Linked DNA regions of Homo sapiens: regions 2, 3, 4, 5, 6 and 7 are each linked to region 1. The links are contacts of gene promoters, found by promoter capture Hi-C in blood cells and fetal thymus (Javierre and others, 2016). All regions are on one chromosome and are shown on one strand. The core of a region is centred on a gene start or on the middle of the fragment in contact, and the rest is flanking DNA. Distances in the headings are between cores, read along the strand shown.

What was found. The method cuts DNA at HindIII sites, captures the fragments that hold promoters and counts their contacts. A CHiCAGO score of 5 or more calls a contact.
Region 2: a fragment that was not itself captured here is called in contact with the fragment with the promoter of H1-5 in region 1 in 2 of 17 cell types (fetal thymus and M0 macrophages); the score reaches 6.4 in fetal thymus.
Region 3: the fragment with the promoter of BTN2A1 here is called in contact with the fragment with the promoter of H1-5 in region 1 in 5 of 17 cell types (non-activated CD4 T cells, monocytes, M2 macrophages and 2 more); the score reaches 6.7 in non-activated CD4 T cells.
Region 4: a contact is called between the fragment with the promoter of HCG11 here and the fragment with the promoter of H1-5 in region 1, in 6 of 17 cell types (neutrophils, non-activated CD4 T cells, activated CD4 T cells and 3 more). The highest score is 7.8, in neutrophils.
Region 5: a fragment that was not itself captured here is called in contact with the fragment with the promoter of H1-5 in region 1 in 5 of 17 cell types (fetal thymus, M0 macrophages, monocytes and 2 more); the score reaches 13.8 in fetal thymus.
Region 6: a fragment that was not itself captured here is called in contact with the fragment with the promoter of H1-5 in region 1 in 2 of 17 cell types (naive CD8 T cells and fetal thymus); the score reaches 6.4 in naive CD8 T cells.
Region 7: a fragment that was not itself captured here is called in contact with the fragment with the promoter of H1-5 in region 1 in 6 of 17 cell types (M0 macrophages, total B cells, naive B cells and 3 more); the score reaches 7.6 in M0 macrophages.

Annotation. Positions count from the first base shown.
Region 1 is chr6:27,865,533-27,868,981 of GRCh38, reverse strand. H1-5 (H1.5 linker histone, cluster member) reads left to right here and starts at 1,394. Exons shown (of 1, transcript NM_005322.3): 1 at 1,394-2,190. The coding sequence starts at 1,453. The coding sequence ends at 2,133. H2AC16 (H2A clustered histone 16) reads right to left here. Exons shown (of 1, transcript NM_003511.3): 1 at 3,184-3,449. The coding sequence ends at 3,235. RefSeq lists enhancers at 1,135-1,204, 1,465-1,574, 3,145-3,194, 3,126-3,449. The HindIII fragment of the contact is 3,270 bases long and covers 1-2,409 here.
Region 2 is chr6:26,542,739-26,546,020 of GRCh38, reverse strand. It overlaps HMGN4 (high mobility group nucleosomal binding domain 4), which reads right to left. Exons shown (of 2, transcript NM_006353.3): 2 at 1-894. The coding sequence starts at 814. The coding sequence ends at 542. Among named protein-coding and RNA genes, the nearest start is that of HMGN4, 6.0 kb to the right of the region's middle. The HindIII fragment of the contact is 1,437 bases long and covers 664-2,100 here.
Region 3 is chr6:26,456,230-26,459,528 of GRCh38, reverse strand. BTN2A1 (butyrophilin subfamily 2 member A1) reads right to left here and starts at 1,574. Exons shown (of 8, transcript NM_007049.5): 1 at 1,387-1,574; 2 at 811-922; 3 at 1-48. The coding sequence starts at 892. RefSeq lists enhancers at 1,384-1,543, 1,704-1,963. The HindIII fragment of the contact is 11,033 bases long and covers 1-3,299 here.
Region 4 is chr6:26,519,970-26,523,482 of GRCh38, reverse strand. It overlaps HCG11 (HLA complex group 11), which reads right to left and starts at 1,777. Exons shown (of 1, transcript NR_026790.1): 1 at 1-1,777. It overlaps TRL-CAG1-7 (tRNA-Leu (anticodon CAG) 1-7), which reads right to left and starts at 2,275; the gene lies at 2,193-2,275. LOC107986583 (a long non-coding RNA gene) reads left to right here. Exons shown (of 4, transcript XR_001744057.3): 1 at 1-1,974. RefSeq lists silencers at 1,322-1,841, 2,072-2,671. The HindIII fragment of the contact is 10,867 bases long and covers 622-3,513 here.
Region 5 is chr6:26,473,015-26,476,160 of GRCh38, reverse strand. LOC285819 (a long non-coding RNA gene) reads left to right here. Exons shown (of 4, transcript NR_038992.1): 3 at 1-9. It also overlaps a transcript of BTN2A1 not described here. Among named protein-coding and RNA genes, the nearest start is that of BTN2A1, 17 kb to the right of the region's middle. RefSeq lists an enhancer at 2,277-2,326. The HindIII fragment of the contact is 1,320 bases long and covers 669-1,988 here.
Region 6 is chr6:26,565,566-26,569,067 of GRCh38, reverse strand. TRY-GTA1-1 (tRNA-Tyr (anticodon GTA) 1-1) reads right to left here and starts at 210; the gene lies at 120-210. The HindIII fragment of the contact is 6,863 bases long and covers 1-3,502 here.
Region 7 is chr6:26,582,778-26,586,201 of GRCh38, reverse strand. No RefSeq gene overlaps it. Among named protein-coding and RNA genes, the nearest start is that of TRY-GTA3-1, 7.4 kb to the right of the region's middle. The HindIII fragment of the contact is 1,543 bases long and covers 591-2,133 here.

The DNA of each region.
Region 1 (3,449 bases), core at 145-2,644:
CATAAAGACACTTCTTAGCTTGAGGGCCATACAGAAAAAAGCCATTGTCCAGATTTGGCCATAGTCTGCCAACTTCTCCAGGAGTTCTTAGAAGATGAAGTGCATTGGCTACTTTAAATTTTCTTGCACAGCATTTCAAGAATGAGAAATAAGTGACTGTTGATTTCATTAGGAATCCAAATCATCATTTGATCATTTTTATCATCCAGGCATCCTGTCCAATCCCCTCCACCTCCCATAAATTGTAAACTTCATTTATTTCAACCTCAGTGTATTTGCCTATGTTTTCCTGAGTTCCTCTGAACCTCTATAATGTGAAGTCGCTCAATATCCAATCCAACCTTTTCACAGTCAATAGCCAGATATTCTTCTAAAATATTAGCGCTAAAACACACAAAAATACCCATATTGATGTATCCTGGCTGCTCATAGAAGAGAGTATTCCTGATGGTGCAGCTTGTTAAATGTGGGTGGAGATTCAGGGGGAGCAGTGAGAACATTTCGAAAACCTGACAGTGTCCTGGGCCACCTAAACAGTTTGTGCATTTGAGGATCACTGGGAGCTCTTGAATAATTTTCCACAAGTTTGAGTTTTCTCTAAACTGAATTATCTATATTATTTTTCTTCCCCTTTTTTAATGGATTTGCCCAGGAACTAAAAAGAGAAAACACTCTAATTAGAAAACATAACACATTTAAGTTTGAATGTGAATCTGAGTAGTTAGATCCTTAAGTCAAAGCGATTTGTATTACTGGTGCTGCAATGCAGAAGAAGTCACTCTGACTGTGGAACTCTTCCAAGCTGCAAAATCCCATTCTGTAAAGACATTAGCACATGGAAACTCCTAGGACACAGAACCAGTTTGTAAAGTCAAGTCTATGTGGTTAAGTTGGGGCTGTAGGCAACCAGCTGTCCTGTGCCTGTGTTACTTGCTACAGTTAGAAACAAACTTCATGCCCAAACCAAGGAACCCAGTGTCTTTTCTCTTGCAAAAATCAAAGCATGAACTCATGGGCAAATTTTTAAAAATAACTTTCACTGGATACTTAGTAGAAATTTATCGCGACACGCTACTAACTAACATGATGCCCTCAGCCCAATGGATTCTTATGAAAAGCTGAAGGGATTTTTTAAAATATCTTTCATCAATTGCACAAGATTCTTGAAAACACAAACAAGTATGTGAACCTGGAGGCTGTTTTCCTCCTTTGGAGCTTCAAAGTGCCAAATTCTGTACCATTGTTTTAAGCATTTAATCAAATTTTGAGGACTAACAAACACAATTTGGGAGTCCAACCGCGAGCGGCGGCGGCCAGAGGGCGGTGGATTGGACGCTCCACCAATCACAGGGCAGCGCCGGCTTATATAAGCCCGGGGCCCGAGCATAGCAGCAACGCAAAACCTGCTCTTTAGATTTCGAGCTTATTCTCTTCTAGCAGTTTCTTGCCACCATGTCGGAAACCGCTCCTGCCGAGACAGCCACCCCAGCGCCGGTGGAGAAATCCCCGGCTAAGAAGAAGGCAACTAAGAAGGCTGCCGGCGCCGGCGCTGCTAAGCGCAAAGCGACGGGGCCCCCAGTCTCAGAGCTGATCACCAAGGCTGTGGCTGCTTCTAAGGAGCGCAATGGCCTTTCTTTGGCAGCCCTTAAGAAGGCCTTAGCGGCCGGTGGCTACGACGTGGAGAAGAATAACAGCCGCATTAAGCTGGGCCTCAAGAGCTTGGTGAGCAAGGGCACCCTGGTGCAGACCAAGGGCACTGGTGCTTCTGGCTCCTTTAAACTCAACAAGAAGGCGGCCTCCGGGGAAGCCAAGCCCAAAGCCAAGAAGGCAGGCGCCGCTAAAGCTAAGAAGCCCGCGGGGGCCACGCCTAAGAAGGCCAAGAAGGCTGCAGGGGCGAAAAAGGCAGTGAAGAAGACTCCGAAGAAGGCGAAGAAGCCCGCGGCGGCTGGCGTCAAAAAGGTGGCGAAGAGCCCTAAGAAGGCCAAGGCCGCTGCCAAACCGAAAAAGGCAACCAAGAGTCCTGCCAAGCCCAAGGCAGTTAAGCCGAAGGCGGCAAAGCCCAAAGCCGCTAAGCCCAAAGCAGCAAAACCTAAAGCTGCAAAGGCCAAGAAGGCGGCTGCCAAAAAGAAGTAGGAAGCTGGCGTGTGAAAACCGCAACAAAGCCCCAAAGGCTCTTTTCAGAGCCACCCAGAGACCTCTAAAAAATGGCTGTGCACAACATGTTAGATCAGGCAGCAAGATTCCTTGCATTCGAAAAATCTCGGGCAGTTCTCCCTCAACCCTAATCGAGTAACGCAAGGCAAGCAAGAGTCCAGGGTGTTGGTTGGACTCCCCACGTAGTTTACCCATGCAGTCTGTTATTAGAGTATGAATTCCAGCCGTTGGTTTTTGTTAAGTTGGTGTCAAGCTTTTTGTCAGACGCCTAGCTACAAAGAAGCTTCTTATATTTTAAAAAGCCCGCTCTATAATCTGATTGGCCAGTTTTTGTTCCATCATCTGTATGTGGTTTTTCCGCGTTTAAGCCATTTAGGCACCAGCTACTTCGGCGTCACTAATGTGTTCGGCATTAATATAATATGCTATCAACGCACAAGACAATATAGTAGCAAGTTTCAAGATGGGGTCTCTATTACATGCCAATTTGATATGACCGTGTCATTCTGTACTGGATTATTTTTTTTTCCTCAAGTCAGGTTCTCGCTGTCACCCAGGCTGGCGTGCAGTGGCGTGGTCTCGGCTCACTACAGCCTCAGCCTCCCCGGCTCAAGGGATCGTCCCACTTCAGCCTCTGTGAAGTGCTAGGACTAAAGGCGTGCACCACCCCGGTCGGCTAATTTTTGTATCCGCTATGATGCCCAGGCAGATCTCGAATTCATGAGCTCCAGCGATCTTCCCGCCTCAGCTTCCAAAAGTGCTGGGATTACAGGCGTGAGCCACTGAGCCTGGCTCTGGATTTTTTTTTATTGGTTCTAGTTCATATAACACGAGATGAATAAACACAGCGAACATTCTTGTAAGCCCTACATTAAATAACTAGTTCACATTCTGACTTAAACATGTCACCTGAATCCTGTAAGGTTTTTCCTAAAAGTCATTCCTAAGCTCTAGATGAAAAATGCTTTATCTTTTCATAACAAACGTTCCAAATGTTTAACCAGTGGCCCAGCTCTCCCGCAGAAATAGTAGGTGGCTCTGAAAAGAGCCGTTGTATTGGAAAGTGATTCTATGGAGACATTATTTGCCTTTGGCCTTGTGGTGACTCTCGGTCTTCTTGGGCAGTAGCACAGCCTGGATGTTGGGCAGGACACCACCCTGAGCGATGGTTACTTTGCCCAGCAGCTTGTTGAGCTCCTCGTCGTTGCGGATGGCCAGCTGCAAGTGGCGCGGGATAATGCGGGTCTTCTTGTTGTCGCGGGCGGCGTTGCCCGCCAGCTCCAGGATCTCGGCAG
Region 2 (3,282 bases), core at 133-2,632, 1.3 Mb after region 1:
GAGGGACTAAAGTAAAACCAGCAGGATGAATCCACAAACTGAAAACAGGAATCTTGGCTCTTTTAAGTGACACCATCTCGATGTCATCAACAGAAAGCCTGAGTTTTGTTACCTAACACAGCTGATTTTAGGGTTGCCAAGGCCACATCAAAACTCTCGGTTTAAGGAAGTCAAGTCTATGCTGATGGCATCGGGGAAAGGGGAGACACGAAGTTTTGGTTCCCCACACTGTAAGGCTTCCGTGCCAAAGTGGCTGACACGTGAATGTCAGAGAATCTCTCCTGGGAATCAAGGGAATCAAGAACAATCTTCAAAAACCAGGACAGAAAATCCTATTTTCCCTTATTTCAATTCAGTTTCTGAGATACACCCTATTAGTGGTACTTGCCCTTTCCACAAAAGACAACAAGGAAGTGTCCTGTGTGCTAACAACATAACTTAAAAAAGCCAAAATTCTACACTTTTATAAAACTTGATTTAAAAAAATAGTATTTCAAACAGTAGAGTCACTATAAGTACAGAGCTCTCAAAAATGTACATTTCACTTGGCATCCCCAGTGCCTTCCGCTTTCTGGGACTGGAGTGTAGAGGCATCTCGGTTTTTTGCAGGGTTGTTCCCATCCTTTCCAGCATCTGCTTTCCCCTTTCTCCCTTTGGGAAGCTTCTCTCCCTTCTTTGCAGAGGCCTTTTTAGGCCTGGGCTCTGGTTTTGGAGGAGCTGGTTTAGCAGACAACCGAGCTGATCTCCTCTGTGGCTCATCCTTCACCTTTGCTTTATCACCTTTAGCATCTCCTTTTGCCTTTCTCTTGGGCATGGTAGCAGCAGTGTTCGCAGGTGGCTTGAGCAGTCCTGTTGGGTGCTTCTGTCCTCCTCACGCTGTTCCTGGAAAGATGTCTTTAACAAGACACAAAAAGCGTAAACCATAAAGGGAAAGACTGACGAATGTAAACGTTAAAAATCAAATTGACTATATTGTTAATAATTCGTGTATATCAAAAAAGATAGCATAATAAAAGTAAAACAATAAGTACCAGCTTGGCAAAGATATATGTAAAATATATAATGGACAAAATGTTAGAATCCTGAATACATAAAGCATTCCTATAGATCCATGAGGAAAGGACAAAATGAAAATTTTAAAACTATGGCAAAAAATGTTAACAGGTACTTCTTGGAAGCATGAGTGAGGAATAAGCACCTAAAAATATATAAGAAGTACATATTAAAAGCATAGGATATAACATTTCATATCTATCAAACTGAGGAAAACCAAGTTGTCTGACAATATCAAGGGCTCAGCTGATATGGAGCAATCAAAACCCTTATGTACTGCTGTGTGTGTGTGCCAATTAGTGTATTTGCTTTTGGAAACAGTGGTTATTTGTAAAGCACTCTGCAAACAGTGGTATTGTGTAAAGCAATTTTACTTCTAGGTGTTTACTTAGAGGGATTCTTGGAGGTGTGGACAGGAGATCTCCACAAGAATGTTTCTAGCAACACTGTAATTTCAAAAACCTGTAAATCACCCAAATGTCCTTCAATAGTAGAAGGGATGCATATATTTTGGTAGTATGTATAAAAGGGAATACCATTCAGCAGCAGAAACAAATAGATTACAGGTAGGTTCAAAAACGAGGATGAATCTCAAGAATATAATGCCGAAGAAAAATAGCAAGTTGCAGAAGAATATGTACACTATAGATCCATTTACACATGTAAAACTATGACATGTTGAGGCCACAAACATATAGTAAAACTTAAAAAAAAAGGGATAAATAAAAATTGGACAGTGGTCATCTCTTGGGAGTTGGGAAAGGGATGTAGTTGGAGAAGGCATGGAGGTTAGTCCAGAGATGGGGGAGGTTGCATTCTCTTCTTTAAACTGTAGGGGAAGCACATGGCTGGAGTATTACCTATGTCTTACACAGAAAAATTGTATGTGTCTGCTCAAGAATTAATAAAAGTACTAAAAAATGTGGGTAGCCCAGAGCACAGATTGAGAGCCACACAGGTAGGAAATGGAAAATAGTTTGAGTTTGAGTAATTAGGACTTAGGCCTAGGGCTGGCATTCATGGGCACTGTGTGACTTTTTTAAAGCTTTTGTCTATCATACCTTCTGCCCCACCCTTGAAAACATTTACTGGGAAATTCTGTAACCTTGTGAGTGGCCACCATTCTACAATGTTATTATTATTTTTTTAATCTTGTCTCCAAATTGCTCCAGTTTTTTTTTTTTTTTTTTTTTTTTTTTGAGATAGAGTCTCAGAGTCTCGTTCTGTCACCCAGGCTGGAGTGCAGTGGTGCGATCTCGGCTCACTGCAACCTCTGCCTCCCGGGTTCAAGCAATTCTCCTGCCTCAGCCTCCTGGGTAGCTGGGATTACAGGCGCACGCCACCATACCCAGCCAATTTTTGTATTTTTACTAGAGACAGGGTTTCACCGTGTTGGCCAGGCTAGTCTCGAACTCCTGACATCAGGTGATCCACCTGAGAATTGCTTGAACCTGGGAGGCGGAGGTTGCAGTGAGCCGAGATTGTGCCACTGCACTCCAGCCTGGGGGACAGAGTGAGACTCTGCTTCAAAAAAAAAAAAAAAAAAGGTAATGGTGCCACTGAGACATACAGTTCTACTGATCTAACTACACCTGACCTGCTCTCTTCTGAAGAAATCCTTGCCTAGACATTACATGAATTTATTGCTAATTTTTGTCTTTTTCCCTTTATTTCAAATGCAACATTAAGGAATCATTTTAACAATTTTTAGGAAACAAAAGGAGTTACTCTTACAATGAAGGAACCAGTGAAAATCACTTGGTCTAATGGTAGGGTGACTTGATTTATACCTGTTGCCCTAGTATAATTATTCATAATGTTCCCTTTTACTTTGAAAGGTGACCTAACTTGGGCAATGAATAATAAGGTTACCCCAAATATTCTGCATATATTTTTAGAGGCCTTTATGTTATCAGAGAATGAGAGTGTTTAACCAAAAAGTGAGATTTTGGCCTAGCACACATTTCCCTAAGAATAGATACTCCATACCATTCTCCTTCCATCTCACTCCAAAATTGTTTCTCAGCCCATTTCCTGGTGTGAGAATGCTCACACAGTCTCTTTTCCTGGGTTCAGTCTTCTTCGAGTTAGATCCATTGAAGTCCATCCGAAGTAGGGGGGCCATGATCTCCACATGTCAAAGGCCAAAATACAGCAGGTGACAAAATAAAATCAGGAAAAATAGGCCACTGCCTGGATGCTGTATCTGAGTATATAAATACGGATTTA
Region 3 (3,299 bases), core at 325-2,824, 1.4 Mb after region 1:
CAACCGTGGCCAAGATGGGATCAGTGGGCCCCACGACAATAAACTGGGCTGTTCAACAAAGGGGTAGAGTCAGACAAAGACACCAGCCATCACATCTCTAAGGCAAGAAAGGAAGCAGATATTCTAGGGACAAACTTATTTTTTCCATGGCCATAGGGTCTCTTTGGGCTGAGAAATCTGGGGACCAGTAGCTGTGGCTAGTCGACAGCACCCCTGGGAGCAGTAACTATAAAGTGTGCTTCTGCTTCATGAAGGAAACCCTGAGGAACCTGCCCTGAGCACCCTCTGTCCACCCTGTGCCCTTGAGGGGATTTTCCTCGATTTCCCAATCTAGTGCTGTGCCTGAGTGTACTGTAAACTTGAGCCGTGCAATAGGACACATATCCACTAGCTAGTTCCAACTGAAATGAGCTGTAAGTGTAAAATACACACAGGATTATGAAGATTTAAAATTTCAAAATGTTGACTATCTCATTGGTAATATGGTATATTAACTAAGTATTTAAATATTCGTATTTGATTATTTGGGGCGAAACAAAATATAGTATACAAATTTATTTCATGTTTCTTTTTACTTTTTAAAATAAAAAGTAAAATTTAATTTTTTTTGAAAATTTGCAATTGTACATGCACTCGGCCTTTGTGCCTCACTGTATTCCTTTTGGACAGTGCTGGTATAAATTCAATGAACATGTTCAGAATGAAAGGGTAAGTCAACAACTCCACAGTCCTTCTTTCTTTCCCTTTGCAGACTACAGGGTTGATGTTCCTTTCTGATAGGTGACAGCAGCAAGTGGCACACATCCCTACCTGAGACCAGTGCACACAGGCTGAGGAGGAGGAGGAGGAGGGAGGCTGGCCGGGAGAAGTGCAGGGCAGCAGCTGATTCCATGAGCACCCAGAGCAGGCAGGGACAGGAGGCCTAGGGTTACAGAGGAGAATCAGCCTAGGAGTCTTGGCACCTCAGTGCTGGTCGGGCCCAACCTCTCCCGTCACTCAAGTAGGTCTCATCAGTGCCCCAACTTCAGGGAGTCCCCTGCATCCGAAGGCTCAGGTATGTCCCGAGAGAGGGATTCCTTAAACATTCCATGAAGTAAGCCATCAATGCCAAGATCAAGGGGGCCTTTTTCCGCCCTCCTCGGCTCACTTCTCTGGCCAGAATGCAGTTTCTTCAGTTGTCGCTGGATTCTACCACACCCTCCTCCCTTCACTTCCTCCTCCCCGCGACCCAGGCCGGGCAGCCTGAGGCAAAGACAGGCGAGGCCGCGCCTCCCCACCGGTGGGCTTTCCCTGTCCCAGGACCCCGTCTCGTGTCCACAGCAGACCCCGCTTCCCCCACCTACTGTGCCCACCCCGGAGCTGTAGCGCCTCCCCTCCGTTTCCTACCTTCTAGAATTAAACGTTGCTTTTTCTTTTCTCCGCTGGTTCTCGACGATTCTCCAGTCGTCCCTCTTCTCTCCAATCTGCCCAGGGGCACAGGCACTACTAGACACAAACCTTCCCAAAAGAGGAGAAAAAATTGTTCTTCCCCTTCTCCTAGGTCGCCATGTTTGGAGATGCAGGAAACGAAATCTGGTCTCCTGGGCTTCCACAGTCCCAAGAGTTCCCTAAGTATTTTAGAGCCCAGGATTGGCCGGGTGTGAGTGAACCAGCCAATGGTGTCGAACCTTATTTCTCAGCAGTTGCTGGGTAGAATACACCGAATCACAAATTTCAAGCAGCAAATAACCTTTTGAGATTATCGGGTCTTTTTATTTCCTTTTTCTTTGTTCGAAAGCAAGACTCTCTCTCTCTCTCTTTCTCTCTCAAGACTCTCTCTCTCTCTCTCGCTTTGAGATTCCTTGGGGAGATTCCCTGGGGTTTGTCACTGAGGTCGGTGGCTTTGCTGGTGTCCACAAGGAGAGGCCTCTCTATGTAGAGGGCAATTTTGCTGGGGAGGAAACATGAGCAGGAAAACGTAAGCCGCCCCCTTTCCAAAGCCAGAGGACTCCTGTTCAAGTTGCTGGCTTTGGAGGTTGGGCCTGGAGCGCAGGAGGGCTTGGGGGAAGCTGGCATGGCTGGAGCGGGAGGGGTAGCAAAGGAAAGGAGACAGCAGTTGCAGTGGCTGTTATGAAGGCCTTGCCATTCATTCCAAAGCTATCGGATAAGAGGTGCTGAGAATCCTGACTGAGGATCAAAAACCTTTTCCCTCAGGGAGGTGGCATTCTGGTGGTGGCAGAAGATGGAATTGAGCAAAACTTTCTAGTTGTCCTTCACCTTCTAGATAGTAGGTGGTCAGGTTGGGTCCAAGAGCCACACACAGACACACACACTAGCACACATACCATCCTCCCGTAAACATCATCCCTCTCCCAAAGGCTCCAATCTTGTAATTGTAAAGATATCTTCCAGAATAATCTTCCCGAGGCCCAGTTGTCAATATTCCCCTCAAGTGTCTAAATGCTTAGTCTGGAGGCCTCCAATTCCCTTCTGATTCAATTCAAAACTTTGCAGTTAATACGCTAGCAATGGCTCCACAGTGGCCTTGCATCACAACGTTGCACTCCCTGTGGCCAGTGCTCCTTTTCCCATGCCATGGCTTTCATTTCAATTGCTTGCTCCATCTCTGCCCCGTGAAATCCTGCCCAGCCTTCGTGCCTACTTCCTCCAAGAACAACTCTGAATGTTCCTGCCTGAAGTGTTCTCGGCCTCTTCTGACACCCAAATCTTTTGCTGTTCCCACGTCCTGTCTTGTATTATTGTTACTCAGGTATCCACTGTGTCTCTGCTGTGACAGGAGTACCTGCTTCTCAGGACAGACTTCTGCAGGATGTGATTCCTCTCACCTTACAGGGCCCAGCTCTAAGCTCTAAGCTCTGCTCTTAGCTGTTGTTCAATGCATGAGTGACATGCTCAGGGTAAGGTCATTCCCACCACATCATGGCCCAGTTCCTGGAGTCATTTGGCACCAGAGTGCGAGAGAGAGGTGCTAGCAGGATTAAGCCACTCTAGGTCAGGATTTCTAGGACTGGAAAGGAGGAACCAGTAGGTTCCTTCTGCAGAGAAAGCTCTTTGATGAGAATAAGCTAAAGAAAGCTCTGAGAACTCTTTTTTCCATTGGACTGACCCTTAAACTGTCTCTTTCTCATACAGTAGTCTCACACGTCACCTGATGTTTCTGGATTATAATTCAAATAAGATTCTGGGTTGAGTGGCTTATGAGGGTAAATACATCAGTATTAGAACTGTATGTATATGAATTCCAAACAGGACTGGGCAGCTGTTGAGAAGAGGCAGAAGAGAAGGATGAAAGGGTCTAA
Region 4 (3,513 bases), core at 528-3,027, 1.3 Mb after region 1:
TAGATAGTCTAAATGTTTCAAGTAAGGAGTTAATTTGTCCACTATGTATGTACACAGCAGTCTCGAATAAACTGCAAACATGTAACAACAGTTATAATTTGAAAGAGTCTTCCAAATGTGAACATTCTGGCCTAGAACCCTTCCCATCTCCATCAACCCAGTGGGCAAGAATGCTCAAATTTTCAGAAGACAGTCTTTCCTAGGACTTGTAAAACAAAATGTACAAAATATATTAGTTTACTAACTCTAGTTTTGTTATACACTGGCAACCTCTTTAACATCCAGAAAGACTAGATGTTGTAAATTAGGACTCGTTTGTCCTTTATGTACATTATATACATAGATAAAACAAAATGCACAGACATAGTGATTCATCTTGCCTCGCTGTAAGCAGGATGGCATAGAGCTCTCTGCACCTCCCCCTCCTCTCTCCTCCCCTGAACTACTGCACAAACACAATGAGTATTACTCAACAGGTGATTTGGCCATTCCCCCCAAAAAACAACATTTCTATGAATTGTAACAAAAAGATATTTACAAAATGTGGTTTTACTACCTCTAATTTTAACATATATCAGACACTTCAGAATATCTAAAAAGAATAGACATTTCAAAAAAGCTTAGCATTGTCAACTACATACATAGTAGTGAGGAAGCGAATGCACACAAAACAATGGATAGAATATGAAAATGTCTTCTAAATATGACCAGTCTAGCATAGAACCTTCTTTTTTTCCTTCTCAGGTCTTCGAGCTCCATGTCATCTAACCCACTGAACAAACGTGAACGTATCGCTTCTAGAGGCCGTCTAACAACTCAGTTTCCAAAAGTCAACTCCGGAAGACATGTATTTTCTATGATTTCTTTTAAACAAATGAGAATTTACAAGATGTGTGACTTTCTAACTCTATCATACGTCGGCAACCTCTTTCCATCTAGAAGGGCTAGATGTGACAAATGTTTTCTATTAAAAGGTTGGGGTGGAGTTGAGAGCAGCTTTTTCATATTATATACACAGGCCTTCCGTAAACGGCCTGTGAATCTTCCCAGAGGATGGAGGGCATTTCCAACGGGCCAAACGTGGCCTGTCATTCTACCATTTGTCTCTTCCGACAGCAAGGTCTGGTAGTACGGAGACCAACCGCCCGATCGCCGCTAACCGTTCCACCCGTCGTCGTTCGGGACTTCGCTCACCTCCCAGGCCCGTTAAGGCCTTTGTCCGTTGTCGTTAGGACTAGGTAGGTCTCGCCCAATGGCGACAGAGTGGTCACCCGGGACCCAGATCTGGCGGCTCCGTGGCCTGAAGAGGCGGCCGAGCCTGCCTGCGTCCCTAGGCCGCCTTCCCGGGCCCTCCATGCCCTAACGCCCTCCGCCGCGCGGCGTTCGAGCGGCCGCCATGCTTCCCGGCACGCTACTCCCGCCGCCACCCAAAGGCGCTGCGTCCAGGCTGCTCGGCGGGGGTTTCGTCCAGGCCCGGCAGGCTTGGGCCGGGAGACCCGACGGCCGGCAGGGTCCGGACTGGGAGAGGCCGCCGCCGCCATCAGTCACCGAGGTAGGGTAGGGAAGAGACGTTCGCCACCGCTTCAAGGCCTGGGCCCAGCCAGTGGGCAGCCACAGCAGAGGCCTCCGGTATCTGCAGGGCAGAGGGCGCGGCCTGTCCCGGGGCGCCCCCTAGCTCACCCGCCGACCCGGGGCCGGAGGGCCTGGAGCGCCCTGGAGGAGCGGCCCGCGCTCTGCGTCTCTCCGCGCTCTCTGCCAGACCGGAACTCTTGCAGTGATTTCTTACGGGGAGTAAGGATGAGGTGGGGAATGAGACTGAAGAAATGGAATTAAAAAGATAACTATAACTAAATAAAGAGGAGCCCTGCAGTAATGTAATGAGCCATGAACTGAAGAGTAACATTTATTCAACTCTGCCTGTGAAGGAGGGAGAGGGAAAGACAACTAGAGACAGAGGAGAAACGGAAAAAGGAGGTGAGATTTCAAAACACCGGTAGGTTCTGAAATTATTTTCGGAGTACAGAGTACTTTTTGCTGTCCTTGGAGTGGCTAATAAAAACAAAGAGTGCTTTTATTCCGGAACTCGGAAAATTTATTTTTTAAAAAGAGAGAAGACCATGTCACAAAGAGCAGGTAGGAAAACGTAGCGTAAACTTAAACTCGATTTGTGTCTAAATACTAAAAGTACGAACTGTCAGGAGTGGGATTCGAACCCACGCCTCCAGGGGAGACTGCGACCTGAACGCAGCGCCTTAGACCGCTCGGCCATCCTGACGCGCTTATGCTACATTGTGCTCAGGACTCACTTCTGTCTCTTGTCTAAACGCTATTAGTTCCCCATCCACCAGCCGCCCCCCTACCCCATGTCCCCACCCCCGCCCACCCCCTTGTTGTTCTTTTTCTCAAGATATGGGCATTCCTGGGTTAAAAGGTAAGCCGCCTCTCCGCGAACTGCCTCGGACGGCGCTGCATAGGACCGGTTGTCCGGGCCACAGAGCGGCGTCTCCCGAGTGAACGCCGAGTCACTCCCAGGCTGCGCGGGGAGGGCTGCGGCGGGTGGGGCGGCGGGCGAGGGAGGGCGGGTCGGGGTAGGGGGAGCGGGACGGGGGCGGGGGCGTGGGAGGGGCGGGGCGGGCGTGGGAGGGGCGGGGAGGGGGCGGGGCGGGCGTGAGCCAGCCCAGGGCCGAGTGACTAAGGCGGAAGACGGCGATGGCGCTCTGCTCTCAACTGAATTCTAGTTAAAATAATGGCAATCCTGTTGAACTCAACATTACTAGAATACCTGGCTTAAATTTACACTTAATTCCCAGGAAGTTTTAGGCTTGCTCCAGTTTTTGCTGGAACAAGGTGCTCGCTAATCCTTCTCCTTTGCGTTGTGCTGCAAATCTCCCAGCACGTGGTTACCCTTGGCAGGGCCGGTGGAGGGGACAGGAGCGTGGGAAGCCTGGCTTGTCTTGCCTCTCTGTCGGAGTTTATGGAGGATTTGCGCACTTTTCGGTGTGGATGTTATACTGTAATAAAAACTTTAAAAAGCAAAAGCAAAAACAGCAACAACAAAAATGGGGAGTAGCTTATGTATTTTACTAAACCTGGCGCAGCGGGTACTTGATAGAAGGCCTTGAGCACAACAACTTTTCTAAACATAAACAAAGGTCAGAGGTGACCTACTTCAAATTTTGTTAGCAAGGGTTAGCAGTCAGGATGCCATGGTCGGAATATCACTGACTGGAAGTCAGGGGACCTGAGTACGAATTTCAGACAGAACTAGAACTGGTCACTACCTGGAGAATCTTAGATAAGTCATTTTGCTTCTGTGGACATTAGAAACAGCTTTCTTAGACACCTATAATACTTTCATCGTGAGTTCAATTGATAGAATACAATGTTTAATCCCTTAAATTAAGCATTAAATCCCCATCTCCAGGGAATCAATTAGAGGCAAATTCTGTTCTTCTCAGGCCTACCGATTCAGAAGTTTTGCTATGTCCAACATGGTGACTATAGTTAATAACA
Region 5 (3,146 bases), core at 79-2,578, 1.4 Mb after region 1:
CTAAGTTTGGTAAATGATATATAAAGCTTCAAACTGGCCCTACAACTCAAAAGGAGACATAGGAGAAGGGAGGCGTTCATGGGTTGCATATAAATGAGCACAGTTTGAAATCACTACACTAAAAAAAAATCTTTCAACTATAATAATATGTTATTTACTTTCAGCAATGAGTCAGTCAGGAATTTAGCCCAGGAAATCAACAGAAAAATAGACTCCTCCCTCCCCTGAGATGCTGCCTGCACTGGATTCATGTAAATTTAAATATAAATTTAGATTGATGTTCTTTCACCATCCTCCCCCATTATCCTTCTCTCACTTCAATCATAAATGCTCTTCTGTTTGCATCATAAATTTTTCCCCTCAATCCAGTACATTTTTCTTTTTTCCTTGTATTTATTTTATTTTATTTTAATTTTTTAGAGATGAAGTCTCACTATGTTTCCCAGTCTGATCTTGAACTTTTGGGCTCAAGTGATCCTCCCAACTCAGCCTCTCAAAGTGCTGAAATTACAGGCGTGAGCCACTATGCCCTGCTGATCCTGTACATTTTTTGAGTTCATTGTACCAATAGTTCCTCCATTAGCTTGGTTAAACATTCACAAAACAAAACAAAATGCCCCCAAATGTGACAGCTGAGTCCTTGTAGGAAAAAATCCTTAAGTGAAGCTTAGTATCCTGGGGTTCATTGCATATTCATATATACATACTTGGGGACCCATGCACTAAAAAGACAGACTCCTTTTGTTTACAATAATTCAGCCTTTGCTGTTAAGGTGATTAAGGCAAGTAGGTGTGGGTGGAGAGATAGTGACAAAGGAAGTGAACTAGAGGAATAAAGATCAAAAGATGGGAGGAGGTCACTAGGTCACAGTTAAGCAAGGGCAAGCAGGCAGGAACCAGCCCTGTTGCACTGGTGTACTTGGTCACCTGGGCAGGGTGTTGACGGGCTGTTGTGGGGATGTTGGGGACATCTAGAAAATATGGAGTTGAAAATTTACAATATACATATGAATCTTTAAGGCACATCTCTTTTTAGAACCTTTTGGAATATGTTCCTAAACATAACCAGGAGATATTTTAGGAGTCTTTTCGTCTCCTGGCTGGGGGCAGTGGCTCATGCCTGTAATCACAGCACTTTGGGAGGCCAAGGTGGGTGGATCACTTGAGGTCAGGAGTTCAGTACCAGCCTGGCCGGCCAGCCTGGCCAACATGGTGAAACCCCGTCTCTATTAAAAATACAAAAAATTTGCCAGGTGTGGTGGCGTATGCCTGTATTCCCAGCTACTCCGGAGGCTGAGGCCAGAGAATTGCTTGGCTGGGAAGGTGGATGCTGCAGTGAGCCGAGATTGTGTCACTGCACTCCAGCCTGGGCAACAGTGAGACTCTGACAAAAAAAAAAAAAAGGAGTCTTTGCTCCTTTCTGACTGTAATTAGTTCCTAAGAACATGCAGTTGGAAGGTTTCTCTATTCAGGTTGTCCCTCTTCAGCCAAATCTCAGCCTCTTCAGGTCCTTACTCTTTGCATTCTACCCTCTCCATCCTCACCCCTTTCTCTGTGCCAGTTCCCCTCTCAGCTTTTCAGTCCCTTTTCTTCCAGGCCTTGTAGCCCTGGCTCTAAGCAATTTTCCCCACTTACTCCTTAATATTCCTATCTGAAAATCATAGCCCACAAAAAAAGGTAATCAATAGTTTTCTGTTGTTAATAAAAACTTTAGACAAATTAAATTTAGCAGGGTTTAATTTGAACAAAGAACAATTTGCAAACCATCAGAACGATCGGGCAGCCATCAGAGAGGTTCAGTGAGCTCCATTCCACAAGGGAAGTGACACACAGAAACAGCTTAATTGGTTACAGCTCAGAGTTGGCCTTATTTGAACATAGTCTGATCACTTGGCTGCAGGGTTGACTGCCGCCGACTGAAGTTCGGCTACTGGGATTGGCTGAGACTCAGCTATTTGTTACAAAAGTATACTCCCATGCCTTAAGCTTTCAGTTAGTTTACATACTAAGTTAGGTTGCAGTTCATTATTTAAGGGCTCAAGAGCCATCCCTCAGGCTAAATGTATACATATCTCATACCAAATTTAGTTTAATTTAACACAATTATTTCTGCTTTAGTTAAGATTCTCTGATCCAGAATAAAGGAAAAGAAAGCATGTGCTGTACACTCGGTCCGAGAAACACTAAGAGAATCCTCTTTGTAGGAATTCGTGTTTTGATTGGCTCAGAGGTACCATTTCTCATCAGTTGCTGGGCAGAAGCCACTGGGGACGGTTAGAATGAAAACTGAAACGATATTGAATTGTACACATTGACGAAAAGTTTCAGCCCTACCTCTCAAAGTGTTTGCAGCTCTCTGTGTTTACATATTTGAATCATTAATGTGTGTGTTACGTGTACAATCAGTGTTTCTTCACATTCAGCTGTCTTTTATATCATAACAGAAATATCAGGAGAACTGAGTGGAAAAATGAAAAGATTTTAAGAAGAGAAGATAGGTATTAATTAAAATGATACTGTGGCAGTTTGCAGACATCCCCTTGCATGTAATTGTTACATGGAGGATATTATCATCTTTTGTTTTGGATATTATCATCTTTTACCACAGAGCCAAATGAAAGTATGAACATAATGAAAACTAGATCTATTGCATCTATTTTAGTACCTCCAAAATTCAGGTCTCAGATCCATTACCGAATTATAGAATTTTCTGGTATCCAGAGTTAGTGCTGTCTATAACTGCATATTTTATATTTTTCACAAAATTATTTTGGGTGTGACTGAAGCTTTCTTCACCTCTTGCTCCTTATTTGTGCCATACTGTATTTTCATGTGTATTTGTTTCTCACTCTGACAATGAAATATGTTCTAAGGTTAACCTTTGGGTAGACTGTGGGGGATGTCTTTGTAAGGGGTCCTTGCTACAAACCTTGGGACCTAGTGATAGCAGACAGGAGGCAGTCAGATGCCTAGGCAGGTAGCAATGGGTCCCCAGTGATACCCCACCTCCAAGCTGAAGACAGTTTAAAGCCTGAAAGCCAAACTACAAGGTAAATCCTCAGCCCAAATTGAGAACTTGTTGAGAACTTGTCTTCCTGTTTGGTGCACTTTCCTCTGATTGGTCCCCACCCTTCAACTACTTTCCA
Region 6 (3,502 bases), core at 711-3,210, 1.3 Mb after region 1:
GAGATTCACTGCACATCCAGAATAGTTTTAAATAGATTCTTATCGAGGATATGTATAAGTGAAATACGCATTTCTGAGAATGAATTTTAAAACTTACGCAAAAAAAAAAAATTGTGAACTCCTTCGAGCCGGATTCGAACCAGCGACCTAAGGATGTCTAAGGACACAGCCAACTACAGTCCTCCGCTCTACCAACTGAGCTATCGAAGGATTCACACGACTTTCACTTCCCGCTGGGGATGCCATCTCTGCGGAAGGTTGGGCAATCGTGGATGCTTGTCGTCCTGTTTACCTGCGTCGTTGATGTTCTTTTGACATCCACTACCCCTTCGGAACTGACTGATATTCAGAGGCCCTTTTCTCTGAAACAGGGAGAAAACGGGAGCACCACCCTCACTAGTTTACAAAAAGAAACATAAAATGTTAAGGAGGCACAAGGAACTGATAAGAATTTAGCAATGACCATCTTTTGTTGTGATGAATGCATTATATAACCAATTTTAACCTCTACCTAAAAATAGAATTTGAAACACTTTAACAATGCAATTTTAATGGGATTTTATTGAGATAACTGACAGGAGGAAGAGAAGGAAGAGCAGGCTAAATAATGCAACTTCGAAAGCATAATAATTTTTTTTTTTTTTTTGAGACAGAGTCTCGCTCTGTCGCCTGGGCTGGAGTGCAGTGGCGCGATATCGGCTCACTGCAACCTCCGCTTCCCAGGTTCGAGCGATTCTCCCGTTCTCCCGCCTCAGCCTTCGAGCAGCTGGGATTACAAACGCAAGCCACCACGCCCGCCTAATTTTTATATTTTTAGTAGAGTTGTGATTTTTGCCATGTTGGCCAGGCTGGTCTCGAACTCTTGGCCTCAAGTGATCCGCCCGTTTTGGCCTTCTAAAGCCCTAGGATCATAGGCGTGAGCCCACAGCAGCTGGCCATCACATTAATTCTTAACTCAGCAAAAACCTATCCATGGGTGTGCTAAAATGATACATTTTTAAATGATTAACACAAGGTAATATCATTTCAAATATTAGTTTTGCAAAGTGTAAGATTCTTGTCTAGCTTTCTATGACTCTGAAGCTCAGAATAGCTATTATCCTCCCTTGTTAATGAAAAAATCCACTTGTGGTGGAATCTGGCATCCGAAATCTGTTTCATTATGGCCCGGCGCGGTGACTTACCTCTGTAATCCCAGGACTTCAGCAGGCCGAGACGGGGAGATCACCTGAGGTCAGGAGTTCGAGACCAACCTGGCCAAAATGGTGACACCCCTGTCTCTGTTAAAACTACAAGAATCAGCCGGGCGTGGTGGTGGTGGGCGCCTGTAATCCCAGCTACTCGGGAGGCCGAGGCAGGAGAATCACTGCAACCTAGGAGGCAGAGGTTGCAGTGAGCAGATATGTTGCCACCGCACTCCAGCCACTCCACAGAGCAAGACTCCGTCTCAAAAAAAAAAAAAAAAAAAAAAAAAAGAAAAGAGAAAAAAAAATCTGTTTCATTCTTTTTCATGTTCCATTAAAGATAATTACCTTGTCATATAATGAAACATGCACAGGGCAAATGATCCTTCTTGTGCAAGTAGGCCATTGAGCCCAATGTTCACTCCTTTATGGCACACAGATTTTTTTTTTCTTTTCTGAACAAAAATTGAAAGTACATTTAACTTGGCCATTAATCTCCTCAAGTCCATGAAACATTTATTTGAGTGGGGCGAGTCTCGATGAATTAAATGTAATGTTTTATCTCCTCTCCAACCTCAATTGCCTGAATAAGTTATCCTATTTCACAGATGTATTTACTTTTATACATTTGGTCAAAATACACTTTTCAAACGGTTAAATGCATGATTCATATACGAATATGAAATAAACACTTGTCAAAGGTTTAATTCACTAATGAGGGAATCATCAAGATGGTAAAACTGGTAAAACTGGATCGAAGAATTTATTGATAGTCACTGAAAGAAGCAATGCTGTAAATTAACATTGCTAAGTGAGGTAGAGAACTGGAAACTGCCTTACAGGACAATAAAACTGTACTGTTTCTACAGGACGGAAAATAACTAAATATCAGACGAAGTTCATTTGCATCACCACATCACGACGTTCCCTTACAAAGCTGAAAAACTACCCTAATCAATAAATAGTAAACTAGGCCGGGCTTGGTGGCTCAGGCCTGTAATCTCAGCAGTTTGGGAGCCTGAGGCAGCTAAGTCTCTTGAGACCAGGAGTTCGAGATCAGCCATGGCCAACATGGTGAAACCCTGTTTCTACAAAAAATACAAAAATTAGCGGGTCGTAGTGGTCGGGGGCCTGTAGTCCCAGCTACTGGGACTGGCTGAGGAGGGAGGATCCCATGAGCCAAAGAGTGTGAGGCCACAGTGAGCTATGATTGTGTCACGTCACTGCACTGCAGCCTGAGCGACAGAGCCAGACCCTGTCTCAAAAATAAATAGTAAGCCAAAACAATGGTACATACTCGTGGAGCAGTAATTTCTCTAATGGAGCAATTTTGCCTTCACAACGGTCATCTGACAATGTAAGAAGACATTTTTAATTGTTGTGACTGAGGAATATAGTAGGTAAATTGTTGTGACTGAGGAATGTAGTAGGTAAAGAACAGGAATGCTAGTAAACATCCTGTAATGCATAGAACAGCCCCCACAACAAAGAATTATAATATCTAGTCCAAAATGTCAATAGCGCTCTATTGAAACTCTGCTCTAGAGAATGAAAATAAGATAATCCTGGGCCTGCAGTTTTCTAATTGGCTCCCCTTGTCCAGATTGGTCCCCTCGGTTCTGTTCTCCACACAAAATGCCAGCAAGTTCTCACTGAGAGGTGTCTGAGGTCCATAAGATTGGCACCATTAAAAGAAGTTCCCCCCGGGCGCGGTGGCTCACGCCTGTAATCCCAGCACTTTGGGAGGCCGAGGCGGGCGGATCACGAGGTCAGGAGATCGAGACCATCCCGGCTAACATGGTGAAACCCCGTCTCTACTAAAAATACAGCCGGGCATGGTGGCGGGCGCCTGTAGTCCTAGCTACTCGGGAGGCTGAGACAGGAAAATGGCGCGAACCTGGGAGGCGGGGCTTGCAGTGAGCCGAGATCGCGCCGCTGCACTCCAGCCTGGGCGACGGAGCGAGACTCCGTCTCAAAAAAAATAAATAAAAATAAGTAAATAAATAAATAAAATTTTAAAATGCAGCCCATGTGGCAAACTAACATGCAGTTAATTCGCAGATTTGATTTCCATTCATTCATTCGGTAAAGGTTTACTGCGTACCTGCTGCGAGCTGATGGAAGAGGCCCTGGGTTCTTTGCGAGCGCGTGGTCCCTTGAGTCCCTTGAGGGTGAGGAAATCGCACCACCGACCTCCACGTGTAGGGGAGGACGTGGTGCAGCAGCGCCAGATAACGCCGGAAGAACCCCAAGTGGAGGCTGCTTGGGTCCCTCGGGAGTGAGTGAAGAACCAATTTCTGTGGCATGTGTTTCAACAG
Region 7 (3,424 bases), core at 113-2,612, 1.3 Mb after region 1:
CTTCTAGTAACGTAGCATGTGCAGATTGTAGTTCTTACTTCCTCAGAAATAGATGTGGACATATGACACATTTGTTCTGGAAAATGAGGTGTCCCTTCCAGATGTTTGAGAGTCAGTGAGCAATCTATCGGGTCCCTTTTTACCTTACCTTGACAAAATAATTGATTATTTTGATTGTAGAGGATCTACAAATCAGGGTTTATTAGTGAAATAGAGACCACCAACCAAATCATGATAGATTTTTATGACACAGAAATAGGAGTTTATGGTTATAAGCCAGTATGATTTGGCGTGGGGGAGAGGAATTACTTATTATTGCAGCATAAGCTAATGTATCCAGATGGATACATCCAGGAAATTCAGAAGTATGAATTCATTAAGAAGACCAGATTCCTTTCTAGGTAAATATCCAACAAAATTGTGTGAACTTGAGCACTAAGAGGTATGCTAAAAGTGTTCATAGAAAACAGGTTTTTAAATATACATATATATTTTAATATATTAATATCAACATATCCCAAGAAAAAGCTTAGTGAAGTATTGCCAGTGGTCTACGTACAGCCTAATATCACTTTATATTATGATAAGCTTAGGAAAATGTCTAAAGTTTCTTTGGTTCTTTGTGGTAGAATTCTAGAACATTTAAATGTATTGAGCTAAAAGTAGTAAAAATCTCAAAATTAGAATGAACACAGATCTAAGATTGGGATTTTAAAATACTATGGCAGTTTTTCAAGCCTGGAAAGTTCAGTCATTAGGATTACAGCAAAAATAATTATTAGACACAAGAGGCATTTCACCTGCTCTGTCTCTTGGCCCCATATGCAGCCATAGTGACTGTCCTTTTTCTCCTTTTCTCCCTTGCCACAGCACCCACAATTCAGATTGCTTTCCTTTTTCCCTCATAACTTCTACCAACCATTTGCTTCTTTGGGGACAGATCTTCCCTAAGACAAATAGAAAATTGTAGCATGAATCATAAAATCTTAGCCTCTTAAATCCTTGCTGCACCTGAAAATTACCATGCGAGATCATTTCTTAATGTTGAGTTTTATGCCTAATTATTATTAGTAAATAGACTGAGCATCACATTCAATGGAAAGTTACATGACTATCTTATATATGCATGCTGTATCTGGTCTAAAGTTTCTATTTTCATGGCTAAAATAGCTACAAGGAACCTGATCATTGTCTTATCTTCTACTTTTATTCCCAATGGCAGGTAGGGCTTCCTAATACTCCTAACTCCTTCTAATCCAGCAGTAGTTCTTCAACATCAGTGTTCCTTTTGTACAACACTGGTTTCAGTTCTAGGAACATCTCAGGCTCTCTAAGATATCTGAGCCTTTTTTAAACTGTTTATTCTCCCAGGAATGACCTGGAAAATGTATTGACCACTGACCAACTTTTATTTTATTATTATTATTACTATTATTATTACTTTGTGTGTGTACGTGAGATGGAGTTTCGCTCTTTTGCCCAGGCTGGAGTGAAGTGGTGTGATCTTGGCTCACTGCAACCTCCACCTCGCGGGTTCAAGTGATTCTCCTGCCTCAGCCTCCCTAGTAGCTGGGATTACAGGCATGTGCTACCACGCCCGACTAATTTTTGTATTTTTAGTAGAGACGGGGTTTCAGCATGTTGGCTAGGCTAGTCTTGAACTCCTGACCTCAAGTGATCCACCTGCCTCAGAAACTGCTAAGATTACAGGCATGAGCCACGGCACCTGGCCACTGACCAACTTTGAAGACCAAGGATCAAGGATCAACTCCACATTGAAGATGTTGGAGCCTCACCATATTACCTCTGGCATCCCACCAAGAAGCCCCCCCCATATCCCCCTGACCTTCACCATGTCAATGTCCACCAGGCTGATTTCTACCTGCCGGTACTTGCATCTTATCGCATGAGAGCTTTCCCCACCTGCTGATCACACTTTGCCCACATTCATGGCAGGCCAGATGTTCCACTGAATTGGAGGTTTAGAATAGCTCCCAAGCAATTTTTGGTAAATGGTGTATGACTATCCCAGCTCCCTTACCCTTGAAGTTTGATCATTTTTAGGCATATTTTCAACATTGTTTCCCAGAGTTCCTCCTCTGAGGATTAAGAGGGGTTAAGAAGGATTAAGCTTGAATAGCCCAGAGTGGTATTCCTTGGTTTCTTTTCTTTTCTTTTTCACTTTGTTTTTTCCACACCAGTGTTTTCTGGATTAAACCACTTGCCCCTAAATCCTTGAATAAACCACCCCACCCCACCCCACCCCAGAAAAAAAACAGTAGGTTTTTGAAAGGTCATCCAATATGCTGTGGAAGAATAGGTAAGTAGTCAGGGGCAGAAGCAGGAAGGCAAGATTGATTCAGGCGAAAATTACGATGTCTCCAAAAGGAGTTGTGGCAGTAAGAGTGGTGAGATGCTGTAAGATCATGGATATGTAGTGAAGATAGAAGCAACAGAATCACCCAATAAATTGATGCGGAATGCGACACAAAGAAGAATCAGGCTGACTCCCAGGTATCTGACCAGAGAACTGTGAAGGATGGAATGGAGTGAGGGTGACTGTGGGTGCGACAGATTTGGGAGGGAATGAGATAAGGAGTCCAGTTTTGATGATTATTAGCTTCTAAGTGGAGATGATGAGTAGGTAGGAATACTGCAGTAGGATCAGTCTGCAGTTTGCGGGAGAGTCTGGGCTGGAGATATAATAATGTGAATTATCTGCACAGAAACAGGTTTAAGTTCATGACTCTGGATGAGACTCTGAAAGAATTGGGTGTAAATAGATAACAGAAGAGGACTAAGAACTAAAGCCTGGGGAGAAAAACAATATTAAGGAGTCAGGGAGAAGAGGAAGAACCAGTAAAGAAGACTAGGAAGAAGCTATCAATGAGGAATGAGTAACTCAAAGAGAGTGTGATGCCCCAGAAGCCAAATGAAGAAAATATACCAAGAAGAATTGAGCAGCCCAATCTAATGCTGCTACTGATGAACCATGTAAGAAAAGGCAGATAATTTATTATTAGATTAGCAACAGTGAGGTCTATGGGAACTTTGAAAAGAGCCGTTTATGTAGAGATGAAAGACAAATTGGAGTAGGTTTAACACAGAGGACAGGCTGGATGCAGTGGCTCAAGCCTGTAATCCCAGCACTTCGGGAGGCCAAGTCAGGAGGTTCGCTTGAGACCAGGAGTTGGAGACCAGCCTCGGCAACGTGGAGAGACCCCATCTCTACAAAAATTAGCCACAGGTGTGGTGGCACACAACTGTAGTCCTGGCTACTCAGGAGGCTGAAGTGGGAGAGTAGCTTAAGCTGAGGAGGTTGAGGCTGCAGTGAGCCGCTATCATGCCACTGCACTGCAACCTGAGTAACAGAGCCAGAACCTGTCTCACAAAAAAAATAAAAAAAAAAAAAAAATCCAGAAAA